Linked DNA regions of Homo sapiens: region 2 is linked to region 1. Evidence: promoter capture Hi-C in 16 types of primary human blood cells and fetal thymus (Javierre and others, 2016). All regions are on one chromosome and are shown on one strand. The core of a region is centred on a gene start or on the middle of the fragment in contact, and the rest is flanking DNA. Distances in the headings are between cores, read along the strand shown.

What was found. Contacts are between HindIII fragments. The CHiCAGO score rates a contact against its expected background, and 5 or more counts as called.
Region 2: a contact is called between a fragment that was not itself captured here and the fragment with the promoter of POLQ in region 1, in 1 of 17 cell types (naive CD8 T cells). The highest score is 5.4, in naive CD8 T cells.

The regions. Positions count from the first base shown.
Region 1 is chr3:121,543,928-121,547,758 of GRCh38, forward strand. POLQ (DNA polymerase theta) reads right to left here and starts at 2,061. Exons shown (of 30, transcript NM_199420.4): 1 at 1,788-2,061; 2 at 800-979. The coding sequence starts at 1,950. RefSeq lists enhancers at 1,794-2,023, 1,915-2,209. The HindIII fragment of the contact is 11,524 bases long and covers 1-3,831 here.
Region 2 is chr3:122,087,836-122,091,666 of GRCh38, forward strand. It overlaps CD86 (CD86 molecule), which reads left to right. Exons shown (of 7, transcript NM_175862.5): 2 at 3,766-3,815. Among named protein-coding and RNA genes, the nearest start is that of CD86, 34 kb to the left of the region's middle. The HindIII fragment of the contact is 4,556 bases long and covers 1-3,831 here.

The sequences.
Region 1 (3,831 bases), core at 811-3,310:
AGCCGAGACAACTCCATTGCACTCCAGTCTGGGCGACAGAGCAAGACTCCATCTCAAAAAAAAAAAAGAAAACCCATAAAAATTTTATATAAAGTATATTACTTGTTGTTTGTATATACAACCCTGTACAAACAGGTCAATCTATAGCTGGGCACGGTGACTCACACCTATAATCCCAGCACTTTGGGAGGCTAAGGTAGGCAGATCACTTGTCAGAAGCTCAAGACCAGTCTGGCCAACACAGTGAAATCCCATCTCTACTAAAAATACAAAAAAGTAGCTGGGCCTGGTGGCGCACACCTGTAATTCCAGCTACTTGGGAGGCTGAGGCAGGAGAATCACTTGAACCTGGGAGGTGGAAGTTGCAGTAAGCCCACATAGCGCCACTGCACTCCAGCCTGGAGACAAACTCTATCTCAAGAAAAAAAAAAGGTAAATTAACAAACATGTAATGATAATGCTCATACCCTGAAAAGCAACCAGGATCAAACAGGGGAAGGGCAGATTTACATCTCCCATTGCACACTCACTGGGATATATGTTTGTTGAGAATAATGGCAGGCAGAATTGCCCACTCTTTAAATTGTCATTTTTCTTGCTTCCCTCCACCCCAGTCAAACAATAAAACTTTTGTAATTTAAATATAAATAAAACTCCACTTTTCACACATATTGTACGATTTTCTCTAGTTATAAAGCACTGCCTCATTCACCTTTTAAACGAACCACAACTACCTCAATAGAGTATTCTTTACATTCATATCTTAAAAATAGTAATTAGTTTACATAAATTTGGATACCTGAATAAACTAAATTCTTTCCTTCCAGGACTTGTCCAAGCAAAAGGCACTCTGCCTGCCATTCAAACATCTTTTTTACACCAAAACTGTGGTATTTTTCCAGAACTGCTTTAGGAAGTCCCCAGTTTGCCAATAGTAGCTTGTCTCTTTCGTAGTCAGGAACTGTAGGCTTGCATTCTCCTTTTAGGAAAAAGAAAAAATTAAAATTTAATTTACTTCTAATATATGAGTTTTACAGTTAGCCCTTCACCGTGTGTTGGAATTCCTATGTGTTGAAATGAAGCTCTTTAAAGCACATCCTGACTTCAAGAATCTTATGAGAAATTGACCATGTATAGAAAAGTAATAAATTGTTATTTACTGCATATAATAAAAATTCCTTAAAAGCCTCAAACGAACAAAAAAGCGTGCAATACACAGTAGATAAAGAGTGTTGGAATTACGGGTGTAGTTGGGGGAGGAGGGCAATATGCAAGCATTACAAAGCTAAGTTAGGTGAGTTTCTATTTATAGTAAGTTTTAGTTCCATGACGACTGCACAACTAACGATTTTAAAAAACTGGGTCGACATCCACGGGACACCCAACCAATCTCATTACGAATCCCTTCCAGCCTTCCCCTGGACGCCGAACAGCCTGTGCCGTACTCCAGGCCCAACAATCCTGTCTTAAGGGTCTGTAAGGAGTACTGGGTACTACCAGGAACGAGCCGCCCAACAGATGATGGGATGAAGCTAACTAGGAAGTTGTTTCTCTAAAGGTCGAAAGATCCAGAAGCCACGTGAACATTAATACCAGGCGATCACTGAAAACACGCGTATGTCTGAACAGAAAGTGACCTGCCACACCAGGCCCCAGTCACAGAGAAGGGGAGTAGAAGCCCAATGGGGTATGCAACGAAGCAAGTCCCGTGGGGTGAGGACACCTCCCGACCCATGGCCCGGCGGAGCTGCCCCCGTTGCCCGCGGCCTCCCGGGTTCCTGGAGCACCTGCAGCTGCGGCCTTCAGGCAGCGACCAAGGCCGGGCGGCGGGCTCAGCACGGACCCGGAGAGGAACTGGGGGCTGGCACTGCTGTCACCGCCGCTTCCCGAGAACGAATCTGAGCCTGATTCTGAACGCCGCCGTTTCCCACTCCGACGCAGAAGATTCATGGCAAACTCTTCTCGGCCGATCAGGGCAAGCCACAGTCCCAGCGTCCTCCCTCTCGGGAGAACCCTGGCCTGGCAACAGCTGCGGACATCTTCCCGCCAGTCTTCAAACTCAAACCTCCCGGCCCGCCCCGGAACCATAGAGTTCTCCGTGGCTTAAGTAACCCGAAAGCCATAGACTCGTGGGGAAGGAGCGGCTCTCGCTGGCGTCTAAGACTTCCGGCCTCCAACCTCCTGGTTGGTTAATATGAGAGATAGATTAAAGAGGAAGAATACAGAATCTACAGTTATAACCATACTGACCTAAAAGCCTTCCTTCTCCTTTTGTCCATTTCTGGTTTGAATAGGAAGGCCATGCTAACTTCATAAAATGGGCTGCCCATAATAGGTAGATCAGGGAAGTAGCTCTTCTTAACGTATTGGTATTCTGTAAAAAATTATTTCAGATTGAGAAGCATTATGCAAGATAGCCTAGGGTTTCTAATAGAGCATAATTTCCTCCTTTCTCCTAGTATATGATGGTAGGGCAGGGCTATTTCTGAACACAATTTCCATTTTAGCCAGCATGCATTGTGAGGAATATGTAATGAGGAATTGGGGATTGCTGGCTGACAGACCCCTGAGACACTATATGAACGCCGCGAGGAAGGGGCTCTGAATATACCCCAGGGATCGTTATGAGCCAAGAGCTTAGTAATGCATCTGTGTTGTCCCTTTTGTAAAGGTAGAAGCGAACGAGTTCTGAACGTAAAACGGTGACCATTCATTACCTAGTTGCATAATTCATTTCACCAAGCAAAACTAGTAGGCCCTAAGCCTGACCTGAAGAGGCTGTGCAGTTCTAGAGCACTAAAAATCTCAAAAGGTCCAGTCCAATTAAAAAAAAAAAAAACACTCGAATACAATCTGGAAAATAGCATTCGAACCATCAATTCCTTCCGTGAAAACATTTTTTTGATTTAAATGACAATATTCTAAAGTTCCACGAGATGGCGACATTACTCCGTGAATGAAACATTTTTCTCTTGGCCTTTTACGCAATCAACAACTATTTACTGAGTATCTACTGTAAGCTAGCCACTGGGTAAATGGCAGTGAAATGGCATAAAATGGTTCCTGCTCTCAAAGAGAAAGAGTCTAGAGAATAAGGCAGACATTAAACAAGTCAGTTAATGAAGTGTGCCATATGCTTGGGCAGAAATGAAGAGTACTATTAAAGAAATAAAAGAGATCTCGCCGGCCGTGGTGGCTCACGCCTGTAATCCCAGCACTTTGGGAGGCCGAGATGAGTGCATCACCTGAGGTCAGGAGCTCTAGACCAGCCTGGCCAACATGGTGAAACCCCGTCTCTACAAAAATACAAAAAATTAGCCGGGTATGATGGCGGGTGCCTGTAATCCCAGCTACTCTGGAGGCTGAGGCGGGAGAATTGCTTGAACCTGGGAGGCGGTGGTTGTAGTGAGCCGAGATCGCACCACTGCACTCCAACCTGTGCGACAAAGAAAGACTCCGTCTCAAAAAAAGAAAAAAAAAAAAAAGAGAGAGAGACCCCTAGATTGCAGCCAAGAAAGAACTTTCTCAGATGCAGTGTAACTTAAGGGTTAACAGTGCAACTCTGGAGTCAGTCAGTCTAGGTTTGAAACTTAGTAGCTGTGAGATCTTGGGCAACTTGCTTAACCCATTTTTTGTTTGTTTGTTTGTTTTGAGACGGAGTGTCCCACTCTGTCGCCCAGGCTGGAGTGCAGTGGCTTGATCTCTGCTGACTGCAACCTCTGCCTCCCAGGTTCAAGCGTTTCTCCTGCCTCAGCCTCCCAAGTAGCTGGGATTACAGGCCTGCACCACCACACCTGGCTAATTTTTGTATTTTTAGTACAGACAGGGTTT
Region 2 (3,831 bases), core at 882-3,381, 540 kb after region 1:
AGGAAGGTAAGGAGAAGCAGCTTCTAACCCAGGGGAAGAGAGAGTTTCCAAACTGAGAAATCAAAAATGGTACTGATTCCTTGTCAGGGTCAGTGCTTCTCCCCACTGTGTGAATTACAGGGGCCATTTGTCCAAGATTCCTTAGAGCAATACTGATTTCATGTAATTATTTGAATGAAAGGTGATTTGTTAAATTTATAGTAAAATATAATTTGATTTGTGTCCCTGTTTGTCATGCCACCCCAGAAGAAAAATTGTCTTTGGTTAGGTCGAACATAATGGTTTTTTGGTTTGCAAACCATGAGCGATTCCCATATTAGGTGGGAGTTCAGATTCAAAGGGCCCTCTTTTTTTTTTTTTTTTTTTTGTAGTAGCCAGCCTAATGAGTAGGAAGTTGTTCTCACTGTCATTTTATATTGAATTTCTTTTATTTTGAGTATGACCATCTTTTCAAATGTATGAGATAGTTATTTCCAGTTCCACATACTATCTGTACATTTCTTTTGCCCGCTTTTAGTTTGGGTCTTTGGCCTTTTTCTTATTGATTTATAGAAGCTCTTTTATACATAGAAAATTAATACTTTGTGACTAGTTGCAAATATTTTCAGTTGCTGAAATACACAGTAGGTGTTCCATGTAAGAGCTGAACAGCTGGTTCCTGATTGCTGTCTCCCTCCCTTCCAGCCAATAGATTTCAGAGTTTGGGCATTACCTATTGAGCCAAAGCTGACACCACACAAGCGCAGAGTATGGGAACAGAGTTCTCTGTCTGATTCCTGTGAGCTTCCTCATACTAAATCACCAACAGCAACCTACTTATCACAGAATATGAGAATTGAACAAGTGTTGGCAAGGATGTGGAGAAATTGGAGCTCTTGTTCCAGTTGTCGATGGGAATGTAAAGTGATGTCGCTGCTATGGAAAATAGTGTAGCAGTTCCTCAGAAAATTAAAAATAGAATGACCACATGATCTAGCAATTCCCCTTCTGGGTATATACCCAAAAGAACTGAAAGCAGAGTCTTAAAGAGATATTCATACAGCCTTGTTCATACCAGCATTATGCACAATAGCCAAAAGGTGGAAGCAACTCAAATGTCCATCAAAAATGAATGGATAAACAAAATGTAGTATGTACATACAGTGGAATATCATTTAGTCTTAGAAAGAAAGGAAATTCAAACACATGCTACAATGTGGATGGCCCTTGAATACATTATACTAAGTGAAATAAGCCAGTCACAAAAAGACAAATACTGTATGAGTTTACTTATACCCTAAGCAGTCAAATTCATGGAAACAGAAGGTGGAATGGTGGTTGGCAAGAGCTGAGAGGAGGAGAGAAAGAAGAGTTATTGTTTAATAGGTATAGAGGCTTAGTTTTGCAAGATGAAAGAGTTCTGAAGATGGATGTAGTGATGACTGTACAACAATGTGAATGTATTTCATACCACTGTACACTCAAAAGGTGAAGATGGCAAATTTTATGTGTATTATGCCACAACTAATAAAGATTTCTAAAACTTATGAGATCTAATTTCACCGTTTCCTATTGCTAAAGATCACAAATTAGAAAACACGTTGGCAAAAGGTACATGAAAATAAGCACTCTTGTGTTGATCAGAGCATAAACGTATAATCTCATAAACTAATAAAGATTTCTAAATAACAAAGATTTCTAAAACTTATGAGATGTAATTTCACCATTTCCTATTGCTAAAGATCACAAATTAGAAAACATGTTGGCAAAAGGTACATGAAAATAAGCACTCTTGTGTTGATCAGAGCATAAACGTATAATCTCAGGGGAGAACAATTTGCAACTATTCTTCAACCCTTTGGTCAAACGATTCTGCTTCTAGGAATATAGCTTACTCCCACCTGTGTGATATGGCATATAATCAAGGTTTTCCATTGCAACAAAAGATTGGAAACAACGTTAAGTATCCATCACTAGTGGTCTGGAAATATATATATATTATTGTCATCCAATAGAATACAATAGACTAATATGCAACTTTTAGCATGAGGATACTCGTTACATGCTGATACAGAATAATCTCCAAGGTAGTCATATGTGTGCAAAACCGTACATAGTATGCTACCATTTGTGCTTAAAAATAAAAAGAAAACAGAATATGGGTCAATGTTTTTGTTTAGTTTTGTCTAAAGTAACTTTAAGTAGAGGCAAGAAACTGGTAACATGTAACAGTGATCACCCCTGTTACCTCTGTGGAAGAAAACTAGACAGCTAAGGGACAAGGCTGGGAGGCAGACTTGCTTTCCACTATTTATCACCTTTATCTTTCAAATTTAGTACCATCTACATTTAGTACCATGATCTATTCAAAAATATTTATTAAAAAAAGAAAAGGTATAGTCTAGAAGGAAAAAAAACATAACAGACACTTCTAGCCCAATGTCCTGCACTGGGTGCTATGAGAGCAGAGGAAAGAAACACATATGGCTTCTAGACAACACCGTCTGGGGCATACATTTCTGCTATTCGATCAAGAATAGTTGTGCATCTTTTCCTGGAAAGAATTGATTTGTTTTTATCAACAGACCTATGAATTTAGTGGACAGACCTGTGAATTAATTCACTGGTTAGGTTTTCCTTTTTACATTGGCTGTTAAAAAGCTATAAGCCAAATTTATGTCCCCCTCAGTGCAAATTGGGCAGATTTCTAGGGCAAGCATTTAGCACTGGCCTTGTCCTTGGCTCTGTATCATATTCCTGTATTTGGTTTGCTTTTCCACCTGTTTCTCATGTTGGTCATCTTTCCTGTGTATGGCCATACCATCCTGAATGTGCCTGATCGCATCTAATGTTGGTCACCTCTCCTTATTCTTTGCTTCCTTATAAGCCACTAAGCAGCCTTTTTGGTGCTAGTTAGGGTAAGTGCGTGGGTAGTGAAGGAGGGAGGAGGGAGAGGAAGAAAGAAGATAGAGGTTATAAAGCAAAGCATATCCTTTTTCTTGGCTTCATCATGTAGATTAAGTGAATTGCTCTCAAAGCGTGGTCCTTAGGCCGGCAGCATTGTCATCACCTTATGTTGTTAAACATAAAAATTCATGGGTTTCATCCCAACTTACTAAGCCAGACTTTCTGTGGTTGAGGCCCAGGAAACTCTCCAGGTGATTTTTACTCACATTCAAGTTTGAGAACCACAGGAAAACAAAAGGAAGGCAGATTTCTAAGCGTAAATGCAATACTAACCGATTGCCCCCATCATGCCTGTTATGTTGGTCAAGATAAATAATACTAGCTACTGCAATAATCAATCCCTCAAATTTTATTTTTTGCCAATATCACAATCCATTGTAGATCAGTTGTGGGAGAGGTGTAAAGAGAGCTGCTTTATTAGTTTATTAAGCAAACCAGATCTCTTCCATTGTGAGACTTTGCGATTTTCTAGGCCCTTGGACATTTCCTCTGGATCCCCTGCTGCTAAGAAGGCAGGAGAGGGAGGAAAGAGAAGAGACTTTAGCAGCCAGATCTGGAAGAAACATCTTTTCTGCCCACAATTCCATTGGCTAGAAGCCAGTCTCATGGCCTGTATAACTGCAGGGGAGGCTGGGAAATGTGACCTATCGATGGAGCTAAGAGCAAAAGGAAATGGCTTTGATGAAGCCCTGGCATTGTCTCTGCACACCCGAGAACCCAAGTGAATCCCAAACTCCACGTCCAGGTCATGTTTTGGTGAACATCGGTTTTCAGTTTCCTTTTCTAATCAAGTTTTACCTTTTTTTTTCTCGACTCTAGCACTATGGGACTGAGTAACATTCTCTTTGTGATGGCCTTCCTGCTCTCTGGTAAGAACCTTTCAGC